Linked DNA regions of Homo sapiens: all the other regions are linked to region 3. The links are contacts of gene promoters, found by promoter capture Hi-C in blood cells and fetal thymus (Javierre and others, 2016). All regions are on one chromosome and are shown on one strand. Each heading gives the region's core, a stretch centred on a gene start or on the middle of the fragment in contact. The rest is flanking DNA. Distances are from core to core; before and after follow the strand shown. Region 1 has its middle 8.5 kb from the start of PLB1. Region 2 holds the start of PPP1CB (protein phosphatase 1 catalytic subunit beta). Region 3 holds the start of MRPL33 (mitochondrial ribosomal protein L33). Region 4 overlaps BABAM2 (BRISC and BRCA1 A complex member 2). Region 5 has its middle 37 kb from the start of FOSL2-AS1. Region 6 has its middle 20 kb from the start of FOSL2. Region 7 overlaps FOSL2 (FOS like 2, AP-1 transcription factor subunit).

Region 1 (2,900 bases), core at 343-2,842, 720 kb after region 3:
CTGGCAGGATAGACTTTACAGAAGCAATTAAAAGCACACTGAGTATTGGAGGAGAAGTGCAGGGGGCCAGAGGAGCATGAGGTCAGGGCATCTCTTTCACTAGGCCAGAGAAGGCCCATTGTAGGAAGAAATATTTCAACTGAGACCAGAAGGAGAATTAGGGAGGTCAAGAGGTGGGAAGGGTACTGACACAGTCTGAGAGTTCTGGGCAGAGGGAACAGCACACATTAGGGCTGCCAGGATGCAAAAAGGATGACATTTTTAAGAATATGATGGAGCCTCAGTGAGCCTGAGGTCAGAGAAGATGGGCCAAGTGGGACTTGAAGCTGGAGAGAGGAGGGAGCACAGGGCCTTGTAAGTGACACTACAATGGCTGGACTTGATCTGCAGGGCAGTGGGAAGCTGGTGAGGGTTTTATACAAGGGTGTGACATCAGGTTTGCCCTTTGACAAGATTGTTCAGGCTGTTGTGTGTGAAAACGAAAAGACTGGAACAAGCGTGTGTAGACATGGAGCAGCTGGGCAGCTGTTCAGGGGAGCAGGGACAGATGCCTGGGCCCATCTGGGGGCAGTGGAGATGGAGAACAGTGAGTGGTTTCATGAGCCACTTTTGTCATATCCGATGGGGCTACAAATGAGTCAGGGAAGATCATATGTTTGGTTCTTAACTCCTTGAGTTTGAGGTGCCTCTGAAACATCAAAGTGGAGACTTAGTCCATGAATGAGTTTATGGGGTTTGAAGCTTAGAAGAGAGGTCCGACTGGAAATTGAAATGGGGGAATGGTCAACATAGATTTTTAAGTAAACAATGGGGTGTATGTGGTCACCTTGAGAGACAGGTAGAAAGAGGAGGCTCCAGACGAACTTCAGCAGCAGAGAAGGAGCTGGCAAAGGAGGCCAAGAAGGAACTGCTGGAGAGAAGAAACCAGGAAACTGGAAGCCTGGAGGCCAAGGGCAAGTTGTCCAAGAGTAGGGGCCGAGGTTGGCTGTGAAATGCTGCTGAGATGGCAAGTAAGATGAGGTCTGAGGACCTCATTGTTTATTGGATTGAACAAATTACTGACCTTCAAGCAATTCTAGTAGTGTGGTGGGAGCAGAAGCCACATTGAAGGGTAGGGACAAGTAAGCAGAAGGTGTTTTAGAAAGGTCACCCTGGTGATGGATGCTGACCCGGAAGGGATTGTACACAAATTCAGGTAAGAAATGTTAAGGTGCACAGAACTCAGAGTCTCAGGATGACTAAGGAAACATGGATCTCAAGGTCAACAGAGAGGAACAATTGGAAACTTGGTCTGAGCAGCTCTGTCTCAGAAGCAAAGAAGAAAGTGAGTAGGAGGTAGAAGGAGGCATCCAGGCTTCCCACAGAGACCACGCTGAGATTCCAGCCACTCTCTGGAGAGCCGTGTCCCTGGATGCTCCTCCTCCCACATACTCCTAGAAGGCCTCTGAGAGTCAGTTAAGGACCATACCCAACTGAACAAAAGTGATGCGGTGTTGTGTCTTGGGTTAAGAGACACAAGTTTTTGCTGCACAAAAACTGGATTGAAAATCTGGCTTTCCCACCCGCTCTCTGTGTGGCAAGTTTCTAAACATTTTTGTGGATTATAAGACAGAGTCTGTTTCAGAAAGATTGTACTATGAAAATATGCAGGGATTAGAATGGAGAAGATGTGGAATTTGAAAATTCTGTTTCCTCAAGTTTTCTCTTTGGGTGCTAACCTTGCAGTTACAAACAAAGCCCTTACCGAATCCATGAAGGAAGAGAGGAACAGGGCATGGCGGCTCATGCCTGTAATCCTAACACTTTGGGAGGCTGAGGTGGGTGGATGGTTTGAGCACAGGAGTTCGAGATCAGTCTGGGCAACATGGTGAAACCCCGTCTCTATAAAAAATACAAAAATTAGCCTGGCATGGTAGCACACACCTGTGGTCCCAGGTACTTTGGAGGTTGAGGTGGGAGGATGGATTGAACCCAGGAGGCAGAGGTTGCAGTGAGCCAAGTGAGCCAAGATTGAGCCACTGCACCCTAGCCTGGGTGACAGAATGAGACCCTGTCTCAAAAAGAAGAACGAGAAGGAGGAGGAGAAGGAGGAGAAGGAGGGGGAGGGGAGGGGGAGGGGAGGGGGAGGAGGGGAAGGAACAGGAGGCTGCAATGTCAGCTAGTGGTGCCCAGAGGCAGAGGTGGTAGGCAGTCCCTCAGGATGGAGCCAGCTGAGATGGTAAACTCAGGGCTGTGCCCAGTCCAGCTCGATGTCCCTATGGCTGGAGGTCAGCACAGATCTCTCTACCTAGCCAGGCCTAGTGGCCAGTCTGCATCAGGGCCCTGGGGACAGACGCCAGTCCCAGTCTCACCTCATCTTCTCCTGCCTACTCTTATACCACCACCCTCTCCCCAGGGAGTGCCATCAAGGTAAATAGTGGGACTGCGTAGCTGGGAGAGCAAGCAAGCTTGCACATCATTGCCAAAGCTATTAACACCCACGTGCCAGTGTCTGATGATGTTGACAGCTCAGCCCCAACAAGCTGATGACACCATGCCATGCCATCCCATGCCACGCCACCTCAATCCCCTGTTACACAGCCAAAGGCTCAGAGGCCCATTCCAGAGTGACTGCAGTGAGGATAAAGAGATTTCCCCAGCTGGTAAGTTGCCATGGCTGGGGCTAGAAAGGCTGTCTTTCCTCCCTGGACCCCTTGTCCAGTGGAAGCTTTTCTGGGCAGATGATCTCCTCTGAACACAGGCCAGGGGGATATATGGGGTCAGTGCCTGATGCTTGGGGCTGTTGGAGCCAGGAGCCTCCCATTGTGGTCTGGAGCACATGAGATTCCCAGGGAAAGACTAGGAGCCTTTGGTTATTTCTTTTGGATTTGAAGGACAGATTATAGCTCCCATGGACAGAA
Region 2 (2,787 bases), core at 10-2,509, 980 kb after region 3:
CACTGCATGCTCTGCTGTTTATTTGTGTTATTTGGGCTAGGTTTTTTAACCGTCTGTGCCTCGGTGAATCCCATCTACAAAGTAGAGATAATAATAGTACCTACCTCACAGGGCAGTTGTAAGGATTAAATGAGGTAACCCGGGTGTAACATTTAAAACAGTGGCAGAGTACATACAGGGATCTGAACAAATGTTAGCTACTATTAGTGATATGTGAGTGGGGGAAGCACACTGCCTTGGACTTGAGGCAATATCAAGTCTGAGTTTCTGGAAAAACACTTGTGGAATAAGTAAGGGCTGGCCACCTCCTAAAACCGGACAAAAGATCTGGCTTGCCTAGATCCTTAGCGTGACTGCTTCTCCTCCTGCCTTTCTAGAGGCAGTATTACGTGATGGAAATACTTGGTGGGTGCTGTGGGCACAAAGATAAGTTAATGTGTTTTTATTCCCTAGGAGCTGAGTCGAGAGTAGGAGAAAAATGCATAAATAATTACCAGGTAGGATGATTAAGCAATATACTGGAGGCAGCAACAGAAACACACCGTGGAAAAAAAATACCCACGGCGTGGATGAAGATATGAGATGTGTGAAAGCGCTAGACACAGGCAGCCACCTGCACCCATGTAAAATTGGATTATTGCTGACTCCTACAAGGCCCACTTTAACGCTTCTTTCAACCAGAATCCCTGCAGAACTAATTTTGTAGAACCGCCGGGGATAAAGACCTTTATTTGCAATGTCGAACTCCAGCAGAGTAACCCCTTTTGCTTTCCACACGCGCAAACCCGGGTCCCAAACGCTGCAGTTCGCGTTTCCCGGCTAACGGAAGAAACACGAGGAACTGTTTGCAGATCTAGGGGATGAAGCCAAAAAACGGAAAGCGAGGCCGAAAGGGCGCAACCACCACGTCTGGAGGAGGCCAGTGAAGTAGAGAAAGGGGAAGGTCAGCCCTGCCCCAGCGCGCTCTGCGTAACCGGGACTTCCTCCGCGCGGCAAAGCCGGGGAACCTCCCTGGCGCCTGCGCCACCGTGGCGAGACTCGGCGCCGTGGACGTGGAGAGAGGGCGACGCACCTGCGCGAAGACGGCAGCGGGAGAAGCCGCTCCAGTGCGGTTGCGCGGCGGCCCAGGCGTCGAGGGGAGCCTCGGCGGGGAGCGCACCGCGCGCCTGCGCGGAGAGCTGCGTGACGCGGCGGCGCGCAAGGGACGTGCGGAGTGAGTGGCGCTGCGGGTGGGGCCGTCGGCGGCGCTGGTGAGCTTTGCGGAGCTGGGCGGTGCCGAGGAGGAGGAGGTGGCGGCCTGGGTCTGACGCGGCCCTGTTCGAGGGGGCCTCTCTTGTTTATTTATTTATTTTCCGTGGGTGCCTCCGAGTGTGCGCGCGCTCTCGCTACCCGGCGGGGAGGGGGTGGGGGGAGGGCCCGGGAAAAGGGGGAGTTGGAGCCGGGGTCGAAACGCCGCGTGACTTGTAGGTGAGAGAACGCCGAGCCGTCGCCGCAGCCTCCGCCGCCGAGAAGCCCTTGTTCCCGCTGCTGGGAAGGAGAGTCTGTGCCGACAAGATGGCGGACGGGGAGCTGAACGTGGACAGCCTCATCACCCGGCTGCTGGAGGGTGAGTGCGCGCCTGGCCGCGGGACAGAGGGAGGTCGGGCACCGCCGCCGACCCCTGCGTCCCCGTCTGCCGCCGGAACGCGAGGGGACCCCTTTCCCGCCCCGAGACGAGTCTCTGGGAGCGCGGCGCGGCGGACGAACCGAGGAGGGGGCGAGGAGGCTCTGGGCGCGGGGGAGCGGCCTCTGGGAGCGCGGTCAGGGGAGATCGGGGGAGAGGGGGCCGTTCCCGCGGACCCTCGGGGGCCAGGCCCGCCGGCCGAAGGCTGTGCGGAGCGGGTCTGCGGGAGACAGCCTTTCGGAAAGGCCGCCGGGCTCCGCGCGCCGTGGTGCTCGCCTCCGGTGACCCGAGGATGGGGAGAGGATGCCTGCCACTGGGCTTTGTGCGTCCGTGGAATCACTGTTCTTCTCTGTTCTCTTTGTGCATTGCCCTTGGCTGCCTCCGATTGTCGTTCCGGGAGTGAATTTTACGTATATATATATAAACCTGTCCTTAACAGGACTGCTTCGTCTGCTCTGCATTTTTACACAATGCTATATAGAATGGATTCTTCTTAAAGAGAGGATAAAATTAGCGGGAATTAATCTACCGTTTGTTACTTGGCCTAAAAAAATTGTAAGACAAGATATTTGATCAGGTTGAAGATGCACCTAAGAAATGTGATGTATGTAGATGGGTTTGCTGAAGGGATTGGCTTTTGCATTTGATTTGAGCAGAGCTTAATTTCTGCACAAACTTAGTGAAAATCTATTTTTAAAGCCTGTCTTGTATTCGAAAGGTATTTGTAGGTCTACGCAGCATTTGAACTTTCCGGGCTCAAGTGTTCTTATTGAATAGTTTTATGTTGGTGGGAAGGCAAGGGGGGAAAACGAAGAGGTGGACTAGCCGGGAGTTAAATGTATTGATTCATTGCAGGATATTATTCAAAGTTAAATGCAGTCTTCTGCCAAACAGTCCCTCTACCCTAAAGTTTTCGTCATCAATAATTGTTTTGTGAGTGTGTAGAAAAGCCTTTAATCCTTTTTAAACAATTTAGAGGCCTCTTTGTTAGCCGCCGTCCAGCGATTGCATATGTACTGTTTGCTTTCAAATTACCTTAAGATAATTGCTAGAGTGAAGCAGTATGTACTTATATTTGGAAAATCATCAAAGAATATTGTAATGGGGGAGGGGTAATTCCTTTT
Region 3 (2,863 bases), core at 166-2,665:
GAAATCATGTTCCTTGGCTTCCAGTCTTGTGTTTTCTTATAAATCCTCTAAAGGAAATATAAGAAACCTTATCCTCTTGAACATCTGAAGCTCTTTTTTGCCAATGCAAGGTAAGGAAGGATTTCGGCACCTGGAAGGTACTCAGTAGCTGGAGTCCGGTTATGGGAAGATAAATATCAAGAATGATTAGAAGGAAAAAAAGTATTATAGGTACTAAGGAGAAGGACGGTCTTAATTTAAAAAATTGAATTGTATTGTATGGAGAGCTGATTTTTTTCCTCCTCATCTTCTTTGTGATGGCACAGAGAGCTGAATTTTCTTTAAAACAGTTTTATTACTTTTTTTTTTTTTTTTTTTTGAGACGGAGTCTCACTTTGTCGCCCAGGCTGGAGTGCAGTGGCGCTATCTCGGCTCACTGCAACCTCCGCCTCCCGGGTTCAGCTAATTTTTGTATTTTTAGTACAGGCGGGATTCCGCGACGTTGGCCAGGCTGGTCTCAAACTCGTGACCTCAAGTGATCTGCCTGCCTCAGCCTCCCAAAGGGCTGGGATTACAGGCGTGAGCCATGCGATTAAATCTTATTTCACATCTGTAAGACTTCATATGTAGATACAAATCACGGATTAGGAAAAAAATCCAAAAGTCCTGATTATTAGTTGCGAAATGAGGTTACTGACGAGGTCCTTGGTGTTAGAGGAGCCCAGGTTCCTTACAGAGCCATGAAAAATTAATGATTGCAAACTGGTAGGTCCCAATGTCTACTGGGAAAGGCATGAGTCTTTGGAGTCAGATAAAATCTAGGTTTAAATTCTTACTCTGCCACCTGGTAGTTCTGTGATATTAGGCACGTGATGTGAATGCTCTCAATCTGTTATTTGGCTTCTATGTCAGGAACTGTGCTAGGTGTTTGGATACAGAAGTTTGAGATGCAAAGGGTCCTGCCCTCCTAGAGATTGGGATAACTAAGGAAAGGTGGGGTTCTTAATGCCGAAGGGACTCAGAAGAGTGAGAGTAAGGCTTAACCAGGCGGAGAGGGAGTTGGGTCGGGGGAGGCAACATTTTAAGAAAATATGCGAGGGGCTGATACGCTGGAGCGGCCGAAGTACAATACACAGTTGTTCTTGTGGGTCTAATGCAGGTGGTTGCGATTATTTCGTGAAACAAATATGGAAAGCACCTAACGCTGAAAGCACTTGACCCAGAAATAGGAGTCAGGGCCGGGGCGCGAACCCTGAGCTGTAAATCCCTTTCCAGAATGATGAGGATTCCAACCTCCAGCACGACAAAAGCAAAACACACTCGCTCTGAGAAACCGAGGAACGAGCCAGACGACTGGAGGCAGGTTCCAGGCGGGGGGCGTGGCCTCGGGCGACTGCCGGATGTCCTCTTCCAGAACCGGGCCGTGCCCCGGAAGCAGTTGTTGTTGGTTGGGGGCCTTTTGGCCGGTGACGGAGACTGCCCAGGTGTGGTCACCATGTTCCTCTCCGCGGTCTTCTGTAAGTGGGGCTGGAGACGCCGGTAGGGGTTACGGCGAGGGTTAGGGGGCCGTGACAGGCAGGGCCCCGGAATGATGCGGGGAAGGATGTGCGAACAGGACGGGAAGCTGCAGCTGCGTACTTTTCCAGGCCTTCAGGACCACAGCGTCCGGCATGCCCCGCGGCGCGCCTCCCTGCGCGGACCTGTGGGTGCCTGAGAAGGGGTCTGCGGTGTCTGGATTCAATTGCCGTCCTCACGGACCGTTGAGTCTGGCTGTGGGGCGTTTTTCTCCAGCCCGTGTTAGGAGAATCTTTGTCCGAAGGACCTCAGAATTTGCAGCCCACCTATTTCGAACTCTAAAAATAAGGAAACCGCTCCCGAGAGGGGCAATGAATTGCCTGAGTAATGCGGCAGGGCAGTTAAAGAAGTCCTCGGGCTCCCGAGTCAGTGCTCTTCTTTACCCTTGGCTGACTTCCCAGTTAGATTTAGTATCTGGTTTTCACCACATGTGATGGTTGTTGTAATTTGCAAAGGTTAAACTTGTCAAACAAGAAGCTTGCTGCAGCGCGAATACTTGCACCTTAGAAGAGGGAAAAAATGGAGCAGGTATTACTTTAGAAAGATTTAAAAGGTAGCCAGTCCAACAGTCATGAAATTATGCAAAATATTAAATCTAGAATTGTGTTGGTCTGATTGGATCTTTTAACCTTCCTTCTATAAAATCCTAAGGGGATCCCTAATAGATAGGGAATAGTTACTTGAGTGACACCTCATGGCATATTTCATAAGTTAAATATTTTTGGTTATTACTGATATTTATATGAACTTTGCATAAGAAAGAGAATACATTTATATTTTTATTTTCTTTTCCAACCCTTCCTGTCTACAAAAAAGTTGCCAAGAGCAAGTCAAAGTAAGTAAAGATTTTTCCTTTTTTAAACGTCACTTGTTTATGTTGGATTTGTTAGTCTAGCTGCTCCCAGTACATCCTTATATGAAATTAAGCATTGGGCCTTGATTTCCTAAGAGTTGGTTTGTGGATTACTTAGTTGATTATTTTTTCTTTATGAACTCTTTCAAAAATATTTTCCCTCCTGCTGAACTGAGCTACTTCTGTGAGCATTGAAATACTTGAAGGAACCTTTGCTGCTTTTCTAGTCCCAGGATTTGTGAGCTCACTGTCTGTTTCTAAACAAACCATTGGGCTGTGCTGTATTTGGACTACCACCATATTTCCATTTCCTCAAATCGAGGACCAGGGGCCATGTGTCTGGAGCTCACTACGGGAATCCAGAAGAACAAACTCTGCTTTGATTAAATCATAGTCTGTTTTAATGAGTTTTGTAATCCTTTGCATTCATGGTATAAGCATTTCAAAAATAGCCAA
Region 4 (2,700 bases), core at 74-2,573, 570 kb after region 3:
ATTAAATGCCCCTCGCTGTTCTTCCTCTGAAACTAGTGTCTTCCCTCTGTGCGTGCATGTGTGTGTTTCATACCCAAGCATTTCCTATCTGGGGCAGTCCTTCACGGCGAGAAGGAGTTACCTGAGTCAATGTGACCAACCTGCTGGGTTTCAGCCACTCATCCAGCCTGACCTAAGGCTGTTGCTCAATAACAAATGGCCTCTAGCACACACAGCCCCACCCGCTGCCATCCATACCCCTCCAGCCCCCTGTGTGGACACCTTGTTCCCAGGCCAGCCCCACACAGTAGGCAGTCATTAAAGTTTGGTGAGTGCACCAACGGCTCTGTCCTTCCGGCTCTCCCCTCTCCATCCCCTCTGGGCCTCTGCAGCACTGTGTGAATTATACACAAAGACAAAGCTTGGGTGTCATGGTTTATCAGAGGAATGTGTCTGCTTTCTGGGCTTGGGGACTGGCAGTTGTGCAGCCAGCCAGGAACAGAGCTGGGGAAGATACCCTGAGCAGGCGACATCTTCCCTGAACTTACTGATCATCACAGCCAGAAGGGTCTTCAGAAGTCATCTCGTTTCTACCCCGTTACTCCCTTCAGTGTACAGAGGACAGAACTAAGGCCCAAGAGTTAAGGAAACATGCAAATTAGAAACAGCAAATTAGGAACAAACCTGGGAACTTGGAGCCAGGCCTCCTTGTACCATCACACACTCGCTTAGCTGAAACACAAGATGGCTACCGTCGGCTTGGCCATATCACCAGGTTTACAGTTTGGTTTAGCATGGTCCTGTCCTGATGGCCTTCCACACAGGGAAGCAGGGCCCACGCACCACCCACAGAGGTGAGGGCAAGAGCTGGCCTGGGTGCTCGACCTGACACCCTCTGGCCTTCCCATTCCAAGGCGAAGCCACTGGCCCCTCCTGCAGGACACACACATGATTTTACAGGGCCTCTCACCTGGTCCCTTAGTTCCCCTCGTGGCTATTGGAGCCCATTTTTACCAGGTGAGCGCAAAAGAGAACCATCCCTGGGCCCTTGTGAAGACTGGTGAGGAGAAGTCGTGCCTCTGCTTCCTGTGTTCTCTGGCACCCAGGAATGTTCTCAGGAGGCTGGAGATCAGCTGGAACAGACCTCCCATCTTGCCTGTCAGCTGGAGGCCTGCCCAACTCTGGGTTTTTTCACCGTGTGGGTACTATGCCCCCTACCCTGAAACTTTGGGAATTCCCAGGACAAGAACAACAGTCCAGTGTCCTATGTCCATATCCCAGCCCTGCCATTAACTGGCTATGTGGCCTTGAGTAAGTCCCTTCCTCTCCATAATATTAATACTAGGAGGGGGCTGGACTGGATTGTGGGCTCAGCTCATCAGATCACCCGGGGAGATTTTTTTAGGAACTACTGCTCTGGTAGTTCCCACTGCAGGCCTGTTGACTTGGAATCTCACTAGCTGGAGCTTAGCCTTCTAGATTTTGATAAAACTCCCCCAGCGATTCTACTGAGCAAGTGATCATGACCCACTAAGCCAGCTGACCACACTGGCACTGCTTCTGACCCTGACCCGCTGAGTGCCCACAAGAAGGTGCCCCTCTACTCAGGGCAGCTGTGTGCTATGCCCCATGTCCCCTCCATCCCCCACTAAGGTGCCATGGCATGGTCACTTAGGATTGCTAGGGGCACCCTCCCCTGATGGAGGGGTACGGATTGGGCTCTACTGTGCACAGCACCAAGAGTTGACTGAGCCCGGACTTGCTTCTGAGCTGCAACTGGGTCTGAAGCAAGCCCAGGCTCAGTCAACTCTTACTGGTTCCACTTCTAGCAGATGGTGGTTGGCACTGTGGGAGGGGGTGAGGTCCTGTGGACTGGTCGTCCCCTCAGCATTTCAAATAAGCATTCAGCAGTGACAGCAGCCAGTAGTGGGCAGTGTGGTCTGGGAATGTCATCCTCCTGCCCCTGCCAGCCCCTGGGGGCCCACAGACCCAGAAAACGAATGAGACCCTGCCCATCAGCGAAGCACACAGTCTAACTCAGAAGTTTTGCCACACACATTAGCTCACACAGCTTTACAGCAGACCTGGGCTGTGAGCAACTGAATAGGGTTGCTTTTGTTCCACAGATGAGGAAACAGAAGATGAGAGAAGTTAAGTGAGTTACCCACGATCACCGGCCGGTCAGGGCCGGAGCCAAGACCAAATCCAGGCTCTTGGCTCCCCTCCAGCAACAATTCTCACGTGTGTCGATACTCTCGTGAACAAACTGAAGCTTATTTTTTTATTTCCCAGTGAAGGATGATGGACGTTATATAGGTTTGTGAAGATGGAAATTTATGATTATTTTTAAAAGACTTTCAGCTTCCTTGCCACAGGGGAGGATTTGGGCTGGTTTTCTTAGAGGGGATTCAGCACAAGGTGACAGTCACCACTGTATGTTTCCAGAACCAGGGACTCAAACACCAGGGTTTGCGTGATTTTATCTTTACCCCGCAACAGCAACAGAAGCCGGTGGCGCCTGTAAACGAGTGAAGGTCACCTGTATATTTGTAAATACTTCCTGCCGGTTCAGCCTGTCATCGAGCATCGTACCTGCACACAGAGGGCAGCCCAAGACTAATTAGTAAATGGCTATAAAATGCTTTGAAGATGAAAAGAACCATATGTGACAGCATATTATTAATACTTAGTAAATCCTGTCTCCGGCTTACTCAGCCCTTG
Region 5 (2,700 bases), core at 166-2,665, 660 kb after region 3:
AGCTGTGCTCCCGAGTGGGTCAGCATACCTGTCCATCTCCATGAGCCATTGGAGGATTCTGAAGGCCCTGGCATGCTGGTCCTGCAGCCAGAATCAGTATCCAGATCCATCCCCTACAACCTGCCTCTCCAGAGTGGAACCAAACCCATCAGTATTTCTGACTTTGTGACGCCTACTTCCACCTTCTCAGCAGGGCTTCCTGGCACACAGATGTTTTCACAATGGCCCCTGAGATAATGAAAGACACCTCGGCATTGTGACACAGAGCTAAGGAGCTCTGGCCCATATGAGGCTGTCTCTGATGCCCAACCCTGGGCATTTGGTGACCAGCAGGTGTGCTCGGCTCAGCCCTGGGAGGATCTCCCTGTTTAGTGTCTCTGCTACTCTGGAACCCCACCTCCTCCTGTCCTCTCCTCTCACACCAGGGGCCGTGCTTCTGGCATTTCAGAGCCCCCAGCCTCATAACCACCACCCCAGAGCCAGCACTCCTTTCCTCCCTGGGCAGTAGGCCACACATGGGCCCTGGGAGCAGGTGTAAGAGGGTGACTGGTTGAGAGTGGCACTGGGTAGTGTGGAAACCCTGAAGGGGCCCTTGCCTGCCAGGCGCAGCTGGGAGATCCCTGAAGGGGCCACAAGGAATTGCCACTAGCACCGAAGCAGCCTCACCATGCGCCAGCTGTTCTATGCACTTAACACACAGCAGCCTATGTAGTAGACACTATCATTACCCTCACTTTAGAGATGGGAAAATCGAGGAAGGGGCTAAATAGCTGGTCCAAGGGCACACAGCTTGAGACTGACAGAACAGAGATCTGAGCCCATCATGGGAGCCAGCATGCCATTGGCACCCTGCAGATGGTACCCCCTAATCCAATCCCGCTCACCCCACCATCTCTCTCTGCCACAGACAGATCTGTTATATCTGCAGCTGCATCCTCAAGACATGTGCTGTCTCTCCAAGTCAGGACAAGCTCATGAGGTGGATGGCCACTGGTTGAAGTCCCTCAGCCTGCTTTCCCCACCAGCGGGCCCAGCACCCCCACCTAACCCACGCCTGGCCCTGGCTTGGATACCATACCCTTCAAGGATTTTATGCAGAGCACCTTGCTGCCAGGATGACCTGGGCCAGGTCTGTGGCCACTTGCCTGGGGCACCTCTTGGAGATCACTTGTCGACCCTTAGGCACCAGGTCCAGGGTCAGGGTCCCTGGGAAGCTCCCTTGGCCCCAAGTCCTATTAGGCTGCCTAAGTCTTTTCTGGAACTTAGACCTGCCTTGGGGCAGAACTGGTGGATGGGGCCATAAGAAGCCCAGAAGTGTCTGGGGATAGCGTGGGGAGGGTGTTCCTCCAGCTCTGGCCCTACCCCTCCCAGCCTGCATCTGCTGCTCTAACGGTAGACCCTGCCCCAAGCCCCTGCCTCCTTTTCTCATGCTTCTCATCCATTCCGGACCCTCTCTCCTCCCATAAATCATACAGCCAAGGTTCATTTATACCCAGTGAGGAAATGCCTACAAAACCGCTCAGCTTGGGGCCTGGCAGCCTGCGGCTCCAGGTAGGAGCTTCCCTTCCCTTTGCCTTTATCTCTCCACGTGGCTGGCCATGGTCAAGTGGCAGATTCCTACCTCCAGCCTCTACTCCACATCACCTACACTGCCAGATAAAGGGCAGACTCCTTTTGAGCCGTGGTCATCTGCAATACTTTTCTCCCTTCCCTCTACCTGGAGAACTCCTTCTTCTCCGGAAGAACTCAGCAGAAGTGTCACTTCCTCCAAAGCCTTCCAGGGTGCCCCAGGCAGTGGGCGGCTCCTGCCCCAGTGGCCACAGTGCTCTGCCCACACTGCCTAGAATACTTACGGAGAGCTTTTGGTACTGGCGATTTATTTGATGACTCTAGCCGGGGCCCCACAAAGATGAGTACATGTGTCTTCTTTTTTTCTTTGGATTACTTACCAAAAATTTTTAAAAATCGTAAAAATAATTAATGAACAAGACGCATGTTATAAAAAATGTTTTTAAATGCACAGTGTGAAGCCCCAGAAAATGCCATGGTTAATAGTTTTGTCAGTTTCATTCTGTCTGTATTTATTTTCTCTGTAGAAATTTATTTGATTTTTTTTACATAAACAAGATCGATCTATATGCATTTGTCCTACAGCTTGCTTTTCTCACTTTATAATACATTGTGTGTGTGACAGAGTAATGCTTCCCCAAATATGTACACATCCTAATCCCCCAAATCTTTGAATATGTTATCCTAAATGACAAAAGTACCCTCGCAGATGTCACTGAATTAAGGCTCTTAAGATGGGAAAGTTACCCTGATAATCAGGGAGGGTCTGATATAATCCTGTGGATCCTTAGAGAGGCAGGAGGGCCAGAGAAAAATTTGAAGATGCTATACTGTTGACTTTGAAGACGGAGGAAGCGCCCATAAGCCAAGGAATGCAGGCAGCCTCTGGAAGCTGAAAAAGGCAAGAAATGGACTCTCCCCTGGAGCCTCCAGAAGAAATGCAGCACTGCAGATACCTTTATTTTAGCCCAAGGAGACTCTTGACTTATGTAAACAGCACACATTTATGGTTCTAGGATCTCCTAGAACCATAAGGTAATAAACTTGTGTTTAAGCTGGTACAGCTGTGGTAACTTGTTATAGCAGCAATCAGAAACTAATACAGTGTGAGTATACAATGGAGGGAAAGAA
Region 6 (2,717 bases), core at 28-2,527, 600 kb after region 3:
AGGCACAAGAAGAGGATGCCAGGATTTGCCACTATTGTTTAACATCATTCTGGAACTGACAACCGATGCTGTTGATTAGAGGCAATTACTACGAGGCAATGATACCCCAGTAGCAGTAAGCTAGAAAGCCCCAGATCTCAATTTTTAAATGCCATTCTCCTTAAACAAATTTATAAGAAAAAATCAAACAACCCCATCAAAAAGTGGGCGAAGGATATGAACAGACACTTCTCAAAAGAAGACATTTATGCAGCCAAAAAACACATGAAAAAATGCTCACCATCACTGGCCATCAGAGAAATGCAAATCAAAACCACAATGAGATACCATCTCACACCAGTTAGAATGGTGATCATTAAAAAGTCAGGAAACAACAGGTGCTGGAGAGGATGTGGAGAAATAGGAACACTTTTACACTGTTGGTGGGACTGTAAACTAGTTCAACTATTGTGGAAGACAGTGTGGCGATTCCTCAGGGATCTAGAACTAGCAATTCCATTTGACCCAGCCATCCCATTACTGGGCATATACCCAAAGGATTATAAATCATGCTGCTATAAAGACCCATGCACTCGTATGTTTACAGCGGCACTATTCACAATAGCAAAGACTTGGAACTAACCCAAATGTCCATCAGTGATAGACTGGGTTAAGAAAATGTGGCACATATACACCATGGAATACTATGCAGCCATAAAAAAGGATGAGTTCATGTCCTTTGTAGGGACATGGATGAAGCTAGAAATCATCATTCTGAGCAAACTGTCACAAGGACAGAAAACCAAACACCGCATGTTCTCACTCATAGGTGGGAATTAAACAATGAGAACACTTGGACACAGGGTGGGGACCATCACACACCGGGGCCTGTGGTGGGGTAGGGGGAGCGGGGAGGGATAGCATTAGGAGATACACTTAATGTAAATGATGAATTAACGGGTGCAGCACACCAACATGGCACATGTATACATATGTAACAAATCTGCACGTTGTGCACGTGTACCCTAGAACTTAAAAGTATAATAATAATGAGTAAATAAATAAATAAATGCCATTCTCCACTAAACAGAACCAGAGATCCTTGGAGAAAGGGGTGATCCCAGGACTGGAACAGAGATAATGCAAGATGAGACTGGAACATCTTTTTGTGTCAGAAAGTAAGGAAGTGCTCAAAGAACAACGCGGACATGTCAAAATGACACAGGAGTCTGCCTGAAGGGGCTCCTACTGACTAAAACTGAGAGAATTTGAGCATCAAAAGAAATAATTACAGTAACGGATCACAACGCTTTGACTACAGTGGAGATCCATGGGTCCAGATGGATATAAGTGAATGAATGAATAAATAAATGAGGGAGAAAGGAAAACTCTTACAGTAGAATGCCAGCTGATAAATGTAGAGTGAGTGACAGAAATAGTCACTGTTTGGCAACCATCATAATGGTGATTGATTAAGGTCAGAGTCATCAAACGATGCTAAGGCTGGTGGGCGAGATTTGATGAGGAACAGGCTTTATAGTCTTGGCATCTCCTCACCACATACCTATCAAATGCAAAGGGAAAGACGGTGAGTTTATGGTGGAGAAATCTTTCAGGCACCAACCTGACCTGGTGTCAAGGTTAACATCACTAATGGTGGGACAGGTCAGAATCATAAGCCCAATGTGTAATGCCCCGAGGAGAACATGGCATCTCTTCTGTGGCATCCTTGCCAAGAATGCCCAGCCCCAGAGTGGCAACTGACAGACTCATTTGGGGGGCCATATTCTACCAAATAAATGGCCCAAACTTTTGAAGACTGTCAAGGTCACAAAAGACAAGGAGAGATTGAAGATCTGTTTCCTATTCAAGGAAACTAATGAGGCATGACAACTCAACGCAGCTCAGAACCCTGACTTGGAACCTGGACCAGAAAGGCAAATGAGGCATCATTGGGACAGTTGGAGAAATCTGGATGGGGTCCATGGGTTGGAGGATGGTGTTAAATTAATTATGACTTCCTAATTTGGAGGATTTAATGATAGTAACAAGGAGAAGATGTTGTGTTGGGGAAATATAAACTGGAGTACTTAGGGGTAATGAGGCATCGAGTCTATAAATTGTTCTGAAATTCTCAAATGGTTCAGCAAAAAAAAAAAAAAACAAAAAAAAAACAGATGCAACTCTCTATACATATATACATAGGAAGAGAAAGAGACAGGAATAGGGAGGCACAGAGAGAGAGAGAAGGCACAAATATGGTAAAATGTTAACAATCAGAGAAACTGGGTGAAGGGGATATAGCAGTTCCTTGTACTGTTCTTGAAATGTTTCTGGAAGTTTAAAGTTATTTTAAAATAAATTACTAGTGAATAAACCTAACACCACCCCAGGTTACCCTGCAACTGGCTTTTGCACAGCTCTGCCAACAGGTGCCACTGCAAATGTGTGGTGCCCAATGCTCACGAGTGCTTTTACTTGTGGTCAACAGCCCCTTGCGTTCCTGAGACAGAGTTTCCAAACTTTTACCTCTGTCCTCGAGCCCCCACCTGTCTCTCTCCCCATCCTTTTTTGTCAGATGACCTAACCCCTATTTTTCAGAGCAAACATAGGCCAACCTGGAGAGTCTTCCCTGAATTTCCCTAACATGACAATTTGCAAATGCTATACATCAGGTTATTGTTGTTTTGGGTTTTGGGGGTTACTTGGATTTTTTTTTTTTAAGAACTGGATATTAA
Region 7 (2,700 bases), core at 94-2,593, 640 kb after region 3:
TCACAGTGTCTGAGAACATTACTGGTTTTCTCTTTCCTGCCTAGATTGGTCCCTGGCAGGTTGCTGTCCCTCACATCCCTCTCTTTCCGTGGCAGGAGACAGAGGAGCTGGAGGAGGAGAAGTCAGGCCTGCAGAAGGAGATTGCTGAGCTGCAGAAGGAGAAGGAGAAGCTGGAGTTCATGTTGGTGGCTCACGGCCCAGTGTGCAAGATTAGCCCCGAGGAGCGCCGATCGCCCCCAGCCCCTGGGCTGCAGCCCATGCGCAGTGGGGGTGGCTCGGTGGGCGCTGTAGTGGTGAAACAGGAGCCCCTGGAAGAGGACAGCCCCTCGTCCTCGTCGGCGGGGCTGGACAAGGCCCAGCGCTCTGTCATCAAGCCCATCAGCATTGCTGGGGGCTTCTACGGTGAGGAGCCCCTGCACACCCCCATCGTGGTGACCTCCACACCTGCTGTCACTCCGGGCACCTCGAACCTCGTCTTCACCTATCCTAGCGTCCTGGAGCAGGAGTCACCCGCATCTCCCTCCGAATCCTGCTCCAAGGCTCACCGCAGAAGCAGTAGCAGCGGGGACCAATCATCAGACTCCTTGAACTCCCCCACTCTGCTGGCTCTGTAACCCAGTGCACCTCCCTCCCCAGCTCCGGAGGGGGTCCTCCTCGCTCCTCCTTCCCAGGGACCAGCACCTTCAAGCGCTCCAGGGCCGTGAGGGCAAGAGGGGGACCTGCCACCAGGGAGCTTCCTGGCTCTGGGGGACCCAGGTGGGACTTAGCAGTGAGTATTGGAAGACTTGGGTTGATCTCTTAGAAGCCATGGGACCTCCTCCCTCATTCATCTTGCAAGCAAATCCCATTTCTTGAAAAGCCTTGGAGAACTCGGTTTGGTAGACTTGGACATCTCTCTGGCTTCTGAAGAGCCTGAAGCTGGCCTGGACCATTCCTGTCCCTTTGTTACCATACTGTCTCTGGAGTGATGGTGTCCTTCCCTGCCCCACCACGCATGCTCAGTGCCTTTTGGTTTCACCTTCCCTCGACTTGACCCTTTCCTCCCCCAGCGTCAGTTTCACTCCCTCTTGGTTTTTATCAAATTTGCCATGACATTTCATCTGGGTGGTCTGAATATTAAAGCTCTTCATTTCTGGAGATGGGGCAGCAGGTGGCTCTTCTGCTGGGGCTGACTTGTCCAGAAGGGGACAAAGTGCAATACAGAGCCTTCCCTACCCTGACGCCTCCCAGTCATCATCTCCAGAACTCCCAGCGGGGCTCCCTGAGCTCTCAAGGAGATGCTGCCATCACTGGGAGGCTCAGAGGACCCTTCCTGCCCACCTTCGGAGACGGCTTCTGGAGGAACGGCTTGGCCAGAAGACAGGGTGTGAGTGAGACAGTGGGGCACAGGTTGGGTTTGCCAAACGCCTAATTACCAGGCCAGGAAGCATGCCAACAAAGCCACACGGGTGTCCTAGCCAGCTTCCCTTCACCTGGTGTCTTGAGTAGGGCGTCTCCTGTAATTACTGCCTTGCCATTCTGCCCCTGGACCCTTCTCTCCGGACCAGGGAGGCGTCCCTCCCTAGGAGCCACACATTATACTCCAAGTCCCTGCCGGGCTCCGCCTTTCCCCCACCCTGGCTCTCAGGGTGACGCCACCCACAGAGATTTAATGAGCGTGGGCCTGGACCTTCCCCAGATGCTGCCAGGCAGCCCCTCCCCAAGCCTCAAAGAAGCATTTGCTGAGGATGGAGAGGCAGGGGAGGGAGGCGGGAGGCCGTCACTGGAGTGGCGTCTGCAGCAGCTGCTGCCCCAGCACCCGCTCAGCCTGTCCTGGCTGCTCACCTCCCCGCAGGGCACCGGGCCTTTCCTGCCCTCTGTGGTCATCTGCCACCTGCTGGATCAAGTGCTTTCTCTTTTACACTCCCCTGTCCCCACCCCAGTGCACTCTTCTGGCCCAGGCAGCAAGCAAGCTGTGAACAGCTGGCCTGAGCTGTCGCTGTGGCTTGTGGCTCATGCGCCATTCCTGGTTGTCTGTTGAATCTTTCTGGCTGCTGGAATTGGAGATAGGATGTTTTGCTTCCCACTGCAGGAGAGCTGCCCCCTTTCACGGGGTTGGGGAAGGGTCCCCCTGGCCTCCAGCAGGAGCACAGCTCAGCAGGGTCCCTGCTGCCCACCCCTCTGAGCCTTTTCTCCCCAGGGTATGGCTCCTGCTGAGTTTCTTGTCCAGCAGGGCCTTGACAGGAATCCAGGGAGTAGCTCCTGGCCAGAACCAGCCTCTGCGGGGCTTGTGCTCTGCAAAGACTCTGCTGCTGGGGATTCAGCTCTAGAGGTCACAGTATCCTCGTTTGAAAGATAATTAAGATCCCCCGTGGAGAAAGCAGTGACACATTCACACAGCTGTTCCCTCGCATGTTATTTCATGAACATGACCTGTTTTCGTGCACTAGACACACAGAGTGGAACAGCCGTATGCTTAAAGTACATGGGCCAGTGGGACTGGAAGTGACCTGTACAAGTGATGCAGAAAGGAGGGTTTCAAAGAAAAAGGATTTTGTTTAAAATACTTTAAAAATGTTATTTCCTGCATCCCTTGGCTGTGATGCCCCTCTCCCGATTTCCCAGGGGCTCTGGGAGGGACCCTTCTAAGAAGATTGGGCAGTTGGGTTTCTGGCTTGAGATGAATCCAAGCAGCAGAATGAGCCAGGAGTAGCAGGAGAT

The links. The method cuts DNA at HindIII sites, captures the fragments that hold promoters and counts their contacts. A CHiCAGO score of 5 or more calls a contact.
Region 1: a contact is called between a fragment that was not itself captured here and the fragment with the promoter of MRPL33 in region 3, in 1 of 17 cell types (M1 macrophages). The highest score is 8.7, in M1 macrophages.
Region 2: the fragment with the promoter of PPP1CB here is called in contact with the fragment with the promoter of MRPL33 in region 3 in 1 of 17 cell types (fetal thymus); the score reaches 5.9 in fetal thymus.
Region 4: a contact is called between a fragment that was not itself captured here and the fragment with the promoter of MRPL33 in region 3, in 4 of 17 cell types (endothelial precursors, megakaryocytes, monocytes and 1 more). The highest score is 6.6, in endothelial precursors.
Region 5: a fragment that was not itself captured here is called in contact with the fragment with the promoter of MRPL33 in region 3 in 8 of 17 cell types (megakaryocytes, monocytes, erythroblasts and 5 more); the score reaches 6.3 in megakaryocytes.
Region 6: a contact is called between a fragment that was not itself captured here and the fragment with the promoter of MRPL33 in region 3, in 1 of 17 cell types (M0 macrophages). The highest score is 5.8, in M0 macrophages.
Region 7: a contact is called between a fragment that was not itself captured here and the fragment with the promoter of MRPL33 in region 3, in 14 of 17 cell types (megakaryocytes, endothelial precursors, M0 macrophages and 11 more). The highest score is 15.8, in megakaryocytes.

Annotation. Positions count from the first base shown.
Region 1 is chr2:28,486,094-28,488,993 of GRCh38, forward strand. No RefSeq gene overlaps it. Among named protein-coding and RNA genes, the nearest start is that of PLB1, 8.5 kb to the right of the region's middle. The HindIII fragment of the contact is 1,706 bases long and covers 740-2,445 here.
Region 2 is chr2:28,750,571-28,753,357 of GRCh38, forward strand. PPP1CB (protein phosphatase 1 catalytic subunit beta) reads left to right here and starts at 1,260. Exons shown (of 8, transcript NM_002709.3): 1 at 1,260-1,606. The coding sequence starts at 1,555. PPP1CB-DT (PPP1CB divergent transcript) reads right to left here and starts at 1,186. Exons shown (of 5, transcript XR_007086259.1): 1 at 1,073-1,186. RefSeq lists enhancers at 673-882, 1,186-1,830 and silencers at 1,013-1,202, 1,693-1,912. The HindIII fragment of the contact is 5,134 bases long and covers 1-2,787 here.
Region 3 is chr2:27,770,304-27,773,166 of GRCh38, forward strand. MRPL33 (mitochondrial ribosomal protein L33) reads left to right here and starts at 1,416. Exons shown (of 4, transcript NM_004891.4): 1 at 1,416-1,496; 2 at 2,371-2,389. The coding sequence starts at 1,475. RefSeq lists enhancers at 1,058-1,177, 1,411-2,227, 1,468-1,597. The HindIII fragment of the contact is 2,472 bases long and covers 1-2,029 here.
Region 4 is chr2:28,338,870-28,341,569 of GRCh38, forward strand. It overlaps BABAM2 (BRISC and BRCA1 A complex member 2), which reads left to right. Exons shown (of 12, transcript NM_199191.3): 12 at 1-32. Among named protein-coding and RNA genes, the nearest start is that of BABAM2-AS2, 30 kb to the left of the region's middle. RefSeq lists an enhancer at 1,101-1,720. The HindIII fragment of the contact is 1,851 bases long and covers 399-2,249 here.
Region 5 is chr2:28,430,761-28,433,460 of GRCh38, forward strand. No RefSeq gene overlaps it. Among named protein-coding and RNA genes, the nearest start is that of FOSL2-AS1, 37 kb to the left of the region's middle. The HindIII fragment of the contact is 4,706 bases long and covers 1-2,700 here.
Region 6 is chr2:28,371,266-28,373,982 of GRCh38, forward strand. No RefSeq gene overlaps it. Among named protein-coding and RNA genes, the nearest start is that of FOSL2, 20 kb to the right of the region's middle. The HindIII fragment of the contact is 7,642 bases long and covers 1-2,717 here.
Region 7 is chr2:28,411,835-28,414,534 of GRCh38, forward strand. FOSL2 (FOS like 2, AP-1 transcription factor subunit) reads left to right here. Exons shown (of 4, transcript NM_005253.4): 4 at 96-2,700. The coding sequence ends at 614. Among named protein-coding and RNA genes, the nearest start is that of FOSL2-AS1, 19 kb to the left of the region's middle. RefSeq lists enhancers at 1,207-1,811, 1,812-2,416. The HindIII fragment of the contact is 7,288 bases long and covers 1-2,700 here.